3 separate regions of the Homo sapiens genome follow, and all the other regions are linked to region 3. Evidence: promoter capture Hi-C in human tissues and cell types (Jung and others, 2019). All regions are on one chromosome and are shown on one strand. Each heading gives the region's core, a stretch centred on a gene start or on the middle of the fragment in contact. The rest is flanking DNA. Distances are from core to core; before and after follow the strand shown.

Region 1 (2,700 bases), core at 189-2,688, 600 kb after region 3:
GAAAGCACAGGAAAGTAGAAAAAAAAATCCACATTACTATAAGCTTTTGTTTTATTTCCATCCAGTCATTTGTTTTCCCCACGCATAAGGGTTTGGTTTTGTTTTTATTTTTTTAATTGTGGTAAAATACACATAACAAAATTTATCAAAGTGTACAGCTCAGCAATATTATTGAATACACTTACAATGTTGTGCAACTAGCACCACCATCCATTTCTAGAACTCTTCATCTTGTCAAACGAAATTCCATACCCACAAACAATAACTCTCATGCCTTCCTCCCCAGCCTCTGGCAACCACCATTCTACTTCCTGTCTCTATGATTTTGACTACCCTAAGTGCCTCATATAAGTGGAATCACACAGAATTTGTCTTTTTGTGACTGACTCATTTCATTTAGCATAATGGCCTTAAGGCTCATCCATGTGGCAGCATACTGCAGGATTCCTTTCCTTTTTAAGGATGAGTAACATTCACTGTGTGTATGCACCACATTTTGCCTAGCCATTCATTCCTCTGTTGGTGGAAACTTGGGTTACTATAAACATTGGTGTGCAAATATTAGATAGTGCAAAATTTATTGTGGTTTTTGCCATTACTTTCAATATCTCTGAGGCCCTGTTTTTAGTTCTTTGGGTTATATACCCAGAAGTGCAATTTCTGAATCACATGGTAATTCTATGTTCAATTTTTTGTTTATGTATGTATGTATGTATTTATTTATGTATGTATGTATGTATGTATGTATTTATTGGGAATGGGGTCTTGCTGCATTGCTCAGGGTGGTCTCGAACTCCTGGGCTCAAGCAATCCTCCCTCAACCTCCCAAGTAGCGGGGATTACAGGCATGAGCCCCTGGCTTTATGGTGTTTGTTTGTTTGTTTGTTTGAGACAGGGTCTTGCTCAGTAATCCAGGCTGGAGTGCAGTGGCACGATCACTGCTCACTGTAGCCTTGACTTCCTGGGCTCAAGCAATCCTCCCACTTCAGTCCCCCAAGTAGCTGGAACTACAGGTGCACACCACTATGCATGGCTAATTTTTTTTTTTTTTTTTTTTAGTGGAGATGCGGTCTCACTATGTTGCTCAGGCTGGTTGTGAGCTCCTGAGCTCAATCGATCCTCCTGCCTCAGCCTCTCAAAGTGCTGGGATTACAGGTGTAAGCCACGGTGCCCAGCCTCTGTTTAATTTTTTAAGAGATTGCCATACTGTTTCCATAGAGACTATAGCATTTTACATTCCCACCAATAGTGCACATGTGTTCCAATTTCTCTACATCTTCATCAATACCTATTTTCTGGTTTTGGGTTTTTGTTGTTGTTGTTTGTTTGTTTGTTTGTTTTGAGACAGAGTTTCGCTCTTGTCGCCCAGGTTAGAGTACAGTGGCACGATCTCGGCTCATGCAACTTCCACCTCCTGGGTCCAAGCCATTCTCCTGCCTCAGCCTCCCAAGTAGTTGTGGTTACAGGTGTGCACCACCACGCCTGGCTAATTTTTGTGTTTTTAGTAGAGACAAGGTTTCACCATGTTGGCCAGGCTGGTCTCAAACTCCTGACCTCAGGTGATCCATCTCCCTCAGCCTCCAAAACTGCTGGGATTATAGGCATAAGCCACCATGTCCAGCCAATTTTCTGGGGTTTTTTTGTATTGTTTTTTTGTTTTTTTTTTTTAATAGCAGTCTTCTTAATAGATATGAGGTAATATCTCATTATAGTTTTGATTGGCATTTTTCTAATGCTCATTTTTCCATGTGCTTATTGGCCATTTGTCTTTTTAAATGGAGAAATGTATTTTCAAAACCTTTGTCCTTTTTTGAATCAGGTTGTTTGTCTTTTAGTTGTTGAGTTTTAGAAGTTCTCTATATATTCTAAATATTAATCCTTTATCAGATATATAATTTGCAAATATTTTCCTCCATACTGTGGGTTGCCTTTTTACTCTGTTGATAGTGTCTTAGGATTAACAAAATTTTTTTAACTTTTATGAAGTCTAGTTTTTCTTTTTTATGAAGTCTGTTGTCTGTGCCTTTGGTGTCATATCTAAGAAATCATTGCCAAATTCGATGTTGGTAAGCTTTTGCCTGATGTTTTCTTGTAAGAGTTCCATGCATAGGTTTATTATTTGTTCATTTCAGTCCCAAGATGTCATCTGTCACCCAGGCCATCTGAATCCTTGTTAAAGAAAAGGGCACAACTGTTCTTTGTCATGTCCATCCAGCTGCAGGACTTCTGATACCTCCCTACCATTTGTCAAACCAACCCCAACTCCTCAGCCTGGTGTTTAAGGCCATCTGCATCCAGCCTTCCCTCCTGACTGGCCTTCCCTCCACTGGCCCCTATACATCCTGTTCACATGGCTCTTCTCACACGCTCACCCTTGCTCCGTGCCTCTGCTCACCTGGAATGAGCTTCTTCCACCTTCCTCTAATTCCTATAAACAAGAATCCACTGAGACAGTCCACATTCCAGGGCCCCTGTGCTGGGCCCTGTCCAAGGTCCTGGAGATGAACATAAACAAGATGTGAGAGTGGCGGGAGAGGGTCATGGATGCATTCTCTTTAAGACTCTTTCGGCTTTGAAGAATAAGAAACTGCTCAAAGTAGCTTAAGCCAAAAGAGAAGCATATTTGAAGGGACACAGGAATTTCTCAGAACAGAAGGGCAAACAGCCCAGTCAGGGCTCATGGGAACTGGGAATTAGAAA
Region 2 (3,016 bases), core at 52-2,551, 630 kb after region 3:
CAGGCCATTGGCTCATGAGACATTCTGTAGTCAGAAGGCTAGGGCAGATTGCTTTGAGCAAGCCCCCATGGTGGTTCTCACTCCTACTTCTTTGGGTATATGCCCCTCTGTTTAAAAATAAAGTTAATATGCATTTAAAAAAAAAAAGGAGAAAAAGGTCAGTTCCAGAAACTGTGTGAATAAAGCATTTTACTTGCTTTTTCTATTAATCTATAACATATGTTGATTTTTTAAAAAGAATATAAGAGCTATGCAAATTGGAGCTTCAAGACAACTTCCCATCTCCCTAGGAGGAGATGGCTGCCCTAAACCCCCCTACATAGAAATCATCCCACTGCTTGGGCTTAAACTTGATGTTGGGGAAATGAAAAATCCAAGCTAAGGCCGAAGCCTGGGGCCTGGGCGACCAGCAGAATGAGGACCACTGGTCAGTTTCAGGCTGAGGTGCGTCTTCCAGGGGACAATCTCTAGCTGGCCCTTAAACATTCAGACTTCAAGCTCTATTTACAGCATAAAGGTGTTTCAAAAGACGTGATACAAATAACTGCAAATGCTCTGCGATGTGTTAAGCACTGTTTGAAATTCGTCTAATTTAAGATTTTTTTTTCTGACGTAACGGTTAGATTCACGTTTCTTTTTTTTTAAGTACAGTTCTACTGTATTGTAACTGAGTTAGCTTGCTTTAAGCCGATTTGTTAAGGAAAGGATTCACCTTGGTCAGTAACAAAAAAGGTGGGAAAAAAGCAAGGAGAAAGGAAGCAGCCTGGGGGAAAGAGACCTTAGCCAGGGGGGCGGTTTCGGGACTACGAAGGGTCGGGGCGGACGGACTCGAGGGCCGGCCACGTGGAAGGCCGCTCAGGACTTCTGTAGGAGAGGACACCGCCCCAGGCTGACTGAAAGTAAAGGGCAGCGGACCCAGCGGCGGAGCCACTGGCCTTGCCCCGACCCCGCATGGCCCGAAGGAGGACACCCACCCCCGCAACGACACAAAGACTCCAACTACAGGAGGTGGAGAAAGCGCGTGCGCCACGGAACGCGCGTGCGCGCTGCGGTCAGCGCCGCGGCCTGAGGCGTAGCGGGAGGGGGACCGCGAAAGGGCAGCGCCGAGAGGAACGAGCCGGGAGACGCCGGACGGCCGAGCGGCAGGGCGCTCGCGCGCGCCCACTAGTGGCCGGAGGAGAAGGCTCCCGCGGAGGCCGCGCTGCCCGCCCCCTCCCCTGGGGAGGCTCGCGTTCCCGCTGCTCGCGCCTGCGCCGCCCGCCGGCCTCAGGAACGCGCCCTCTTCGCCGGCGCGCGCCCTCGCAGTCACCGCCACCCACCAGCTCCGGCACCAACAGCAGCGCCGCTGCCACCGCCCACCTTCTGCCGCCGCCACCACAGCCACCTTCTCCTCCTCCGCTGTCCTCTCCCGTCCTCGCCTCTGTCGACTATCAGGTAAGCGCCGCGGCTCCGAAATCTGCCTCGCCGTCCGCCTCTGTGCACCCCTGCGCCGCCGCCCCTCGCCCTCCCTCTCCGCAGACTGGGGCTTCGTGCGCCGGGCATCGGTCGGGGCCACCGCAGGGCCCCTCCCTGCCTCCCCTGCTCGGGGGCTGGGGCCAGGGCGGCCTGGAAAGGGACCTGAGCAAGGGATGCACGCACGCGTGAGTGCGCGCGTGTGTGTGTGCTGGAGGGTCTTCACCACCAGATTCGCGCAGACCCCAGGTGGAGGCTGTGCCGGCAGGGTGGGGCGCGGCGGCGGTGACTTGGGGGAGGGGGCTGCCCTTCACTCTCGACTGCAGCCTTTTGCCGCAATGGGCGTGTGTGTGTGTGTGTGTGTGTGTGTGTGTGTGTGTGTGTGTGGAGGGGTCCGATAACGACCCCCGAAACCGAATCTGAAATCCGCTGTCCCTGCCGCTGTTCGCCATCAGCTCTAAGAAAGACGTGGATCGGGTTCTAGAAAAGATGACTCCCTGCACGCCCCTCCCTGCACCTCCCGAGCAGTGATTCCGACAGGGCCTTCACTGCCCCTGATTTTAGGCGGGGGCCGGCCCCCTCCCCTTTTCCTCCTTCAGAAACCCGTAGGGGACATTTGGGGGCTGGGAGAAATCGAGGAGATGGGGAGGGGTCCACGCGCTGTCACTTTAGTTGCCCTTCCCCCTGCGCACGCCTGGCACAGAGACGCGAGCAGCGCCGTGCCTGAGAACAGTGCGCGGATCCCACTGTGCACGCTCGCAAAGGCAGGGTTCACCTGGCCTGGCGATGTGGACGGACTCGGCGGCCGCTGGTCCCCGTTCGCGGGCACGCACAGCCGCAGCCACGCACGGATGGGCGCGGGGCTGCAGGTGCATCTCGGGGCGGATTTCTTTCTCAGCGCTCGGAGCGCAGGGCGCCCGGCGTGTGCGCTCCCTGCCGGAGGCGCGGGGCTGGCGCGCAGGGCTCGCCCCTCACTGCGGCAGTGGGTGTGGACCCTGGTGGGCGAGGAAGGGGGAGGATAGGCTGTGCCTCCTCCCACTCCCGCCCCCAGCCCCCCTTTTTTTCCCCCTCGGAACGCGAGGTGCCATCTTTTTTCGGCGTGTCACGTCTTTACGGTGCCATGCCAAACCGGGTGGCCGGGCTTCATAGGACAGGGCGGGGCCTGGCATTAAAGGGAGGGGGACAATCAGCGCTGAAATCTTGGCGTTTTGCTGCTGCGGGCGTGAGCACTGGGGGCGTTCGCCCAGCACCTTCTTCGGGGGCTCTTTGCTTTGTCTGTAGAGGTTACGTGATCTGCGCTCCCAGCCCTGGTTTCTGGCTTTTATTCTGAGGGTGTTCAGTCAACCTCCCCCCTACGCCCATGCGCCTCTCTTTCCTTTTTCGCTCCTCATTTCCGAGCCCATTGTTGGATCTCGAGGCTTGCTGGGTTCGATGAACTCGAGTCAACCCCCCGACCCCCGGCACGCATGGAACGGGCGTGACCGCGCGCAGCCTCGTCTCGGAGTCTGCCGGCGCCGGGAAGCTTCTGAAGGGATGGGATTCGAGTCTCCGTGCGCGCTGCGGG
Region 3 (2,709 bases), core at 117-2,616:
CTATGTCCCCCTCCAACCTGGATTTTCAATGACCTCAGAGTGAGCCTGCTACATCTCACTTGTCTCCGGTTACCCCCAGACTCCATGTGGCCTCTTGGTCTGATCTCTACCTTCATTTTTCATCTCTTGGCATCCAGCTTCCTGTCCCTCACCCTAAGCCGAAGCTACCCCCAGAGTACCGCAGGCCTTTCTGCACCCAGTGCCTTTGCAAATGCTATTTCTTATACCTGGAAAGCCTTCTTCTGGCAAAGTCCTACTCATGCCTGAAAGCCCAATTCAAATAATCAGTGTAATCCTCTCCATGACAGACCTGGCTGTCTAATCTACGTTTTACCTTACAGGCGTGAGCCACTGCACCCGACCTCTGGTTTTTTTTTTTTTTTTTTTGACAGGGTCTTGCTCTGTGGCCCAGGCTGGAGTGGCAGCATCATAGCTCACTGCAACTCCTGGGCTCCAGTGAGCCTCCCAGCTCAGCCTCCCAAGTAGCTGGGACTACAGGCTCATGCCGCCACACCTGTCTAATTTTAAACATTTCCTGTAGAGGACAAAGTCTCGCTATGTTGCCTAGGCTGATCTTGAACTCCTGGCCTCATGTGATCCTCCCACCTCTGCCTCCCGAAGTGTTGGGATTGCAGGCGTTGAGCCATCATGCCCACCTAATTTTTGACCGTTTTTAATGCTGGCCCATGCCCTTCTGGGAGAGAGGATCCCCAAAAGAAAGCCACCATTTCAGTGGGGGATCTGACGCCCCTATGGGAAGGGGAGACACAGGGCACTGGGGGCAAACATCTTTGCTCATTGGTTCAGAGAAGAGTACAAGGCATCAACGAAGCGCTCCGTAAAAATGTGCTGAAGACTGCCGCTCCTCCCTGCAAAGCCTCAAGCATCAAGGAGGGACAACTGGATGTGATTTTTTGGATCTGCAGTTCAGGATAATTCATGAGTCGTTTCCTGTGCACAAGGCCATTGCTCCTTCTGTGGTCTCAGAACCCCTTCAAGAACCACTGACTCTGCAGTCCCTACTCCAAGGCGCGCATGCGTGTCCGTGAGAGCACATGGGTGTGCACCGCGCAGGGGCTGAGGCTGGGAGCCGTAGTCAGGGGCACCGGGTGGGCTTTGGCGGCGGGTCGACCTGCCTTTCAGGTGCCGGGGGTTTGGGAGCAGGGGAACGGGCCCTGGGCGGATTCCTGACCGCCCCCTTCGCGCCCCTCCCCCTCTCACTTTCGCTTTCCCCGCCTGCCCCAACCCTCGCCCCCGGGCGCTCGGCCGCTCCCACCTGTCACCCCCATGCAGACCGAGGCTCTGTCCTGGAGGCGGGGAGCGGGCTGGTGGATGCTGCCTCTCCGCCTCCAGTGTGCTCTTTGGCTGAGGGACTGGTGGGCGCTGGAAATATTAGAGGCGCCGGTGCCTGTGATGTCGCCGCCTCTGTGACGTCCCCGCCGCGACCCCACAGGCAGGGAGCCGCATTTAGGTTTCGGGCGGGCGGACGGGGGACGGCCCGAGTGAGGCGTCCTCCGAAGGCTGCGGGCCCGAAGCCAGAACTCCTTCCTCTCCGAAGACCTCGGGGGTGGGGCTCGCGCTTCCGCAGCGGGCCTAGAGCGAGAGGCAGGCGGCAGGTAAGCCTGGCTGTGCTGGACAGGACTTGCACCCGCTCTGCACGCCAGCGGCTCAGGGCTGCCGCCCTTTTCGTGGTCCCAGGGCCCTTCCAAGAACCGGCTAAACCAACCCAAGCCGCGCGCACACACACTTGTGCACACAGGGAGTGTGGAGCCAGATTCGATAAGGCACCCCGTGTGCCCCAGCTCCATGACCAAGGAACTCAGCACCCCGTGTGCCCCAGCTCCATGACCAAGGAACTCAGCACCCCGTGTGCCCCAGCTCCATGACCAAGGAACTCAGCCCACAAAGGCATCCCTGGCCCCATGCAGGGCTCAGGAGGCAGCGGAAAGGGTTAAGAGTCCAGGCCTCAAGGACAGGAGGGGAGGGTGGAGGGCCTGTGGTGTGCATCCGGCATCCCTGGATGGTCAGGGCCCAGAACCCATCCCTATTTCCCTTCTGGTGGTAGGGGGCTGCCTAACTTGGGCAGTGGCACAAAGCATGCAGGCTTTGTTGTCCTCCTCCTCCACCCCTCAGCCTGGCATATTTTGGCGAGGGACTTCCCTGATGCCACCGGGCAAGGTATCTTGCCTAACTGGTCTGAATGACTAGCCCAGCGTTGGGACTAGAAGCAGCCACTGGGAGGAGTGGTGGGAAAGCAGCCCCACTCAAGGGCTGAAACAGTCCTTGTCCAAAACAAGGGGGACTTGAAAAGATCTCAGCAAGAAGGCAAAGAGAGGCAGCTGTTAGGGTCGTGAGGTTCAGCAGGCCGGCAGGCAAGAGAGAGGACACCGATGGCCTGGAAACATTTGTCATCACCCCAAACTTTATTGCTTACAAAGAGTTCTCTACAACCCAGACTCTGCAGTACCAAGGCTGCAGTTCTTTATGTGCTGGGGGCCGGGGCTCTCTCCCCGGGAGCAGTCTGACTCAATGTGGACAGCTGGACAAAGGCTGTCTTGGCAAGATGTGGGAATGAGCTTCTCCCACGGAGTCTCGGCGTCCCCTGCCCCAGGAGGTTGAGGCTAGCAGACACCCCCTGACGATTCACAGCTGATTTAATGCTACGTGAGTCCTGAGTAGCTCCCCTGGGAGAAGAGGCTAAGCTGGGGC

Evidence for each region. Contacts are between HindIII fragments. The study calls those that stand out against the background at their distance.
Region 1: a fragment that was not itself captured here is called in contact with the fragment with the promoter of SPATA32 in region 3 in 1 of the 25 tissues and cell types used here (dorsolateral prefrontal cortex).
Region 2: the fragment with the promoter of MAPT here is called in contact with the fragment with the promoter of SPATA32 in region 3 in 1 of the 25 tissues and cell types used here (dorsolateral prefrontal cortex).

Annotation. Positions count from the first base shown.
Region 1 is chr17:45,855,724-45,858,423 of GRCh38, forward strand. All of the region lies in intron 1 of MAPT-AS1 (MAPT antisense RNA 1), which reads right to left. Among named protein-coding and RNA genes, the nearest start is that of SPPL2C, 12 kb to the left of the region's middle. The HindIII fragment of the contact is 3,849 bases long and covers 1-2,700 here.
Region 2 is chr17:45,893,253-45,896,268 of GRCh38, forward strand. It overlaps MAPT (microtubule associated protein tau), which reads left to right and starts at 1,302. Exons shown (of 13, transcript NM_001377265.1): 1 at 1,302-1,434. MAPT-AS1 (MAPT antisense RNA 1) reads right to left here and starts at 2,261. Exons shown (of 2, transcript NR_024559.1): 1 at 2,228-2,261. It overlaps MAPT-IT1 (MAPT intronic transcript 1), which reads left to right and starts at 2,531. Exons shown (of 1, transcript NR_024560.1): 1 at 2,531-3,016. RefSeq lists enhancers at 1,245-2,130, 2,131-3,016. The HindIII fragment of the contact is 9,010 bases long and covers 1-3,016 here.
Region 3 is chr17:45,260,728-45,263,436 of GRCh38, forward strand. It overlaps SPATA32 (spermatogenesis associated 32), which reads right to left and starts at 1,367. Exons shown (of 5, transcript NM_152343.3): 1 at 1,277-1,367. The coding sequence starts at 1,289. It overlaps MAP3K14 (mitogen-activated protein kinase kinase kinase 14), which reads right to left. Exons shown (of 16, transcript NM_003954.5): 16 at 2,392-2,709. All of the region lies in intron 2 of MAP3K14-AS1 (MAP3K14 antisense RNA 1), which reads left to right. RefSeq lists silencers at 1,011-1,130, 1,201-1,250 and enhancers at 1,199-1,804, 1,281-1,370, 1,805-2,408. The HindIII fragment of the contact is 11,872 bases long and covers 1-2,709 here.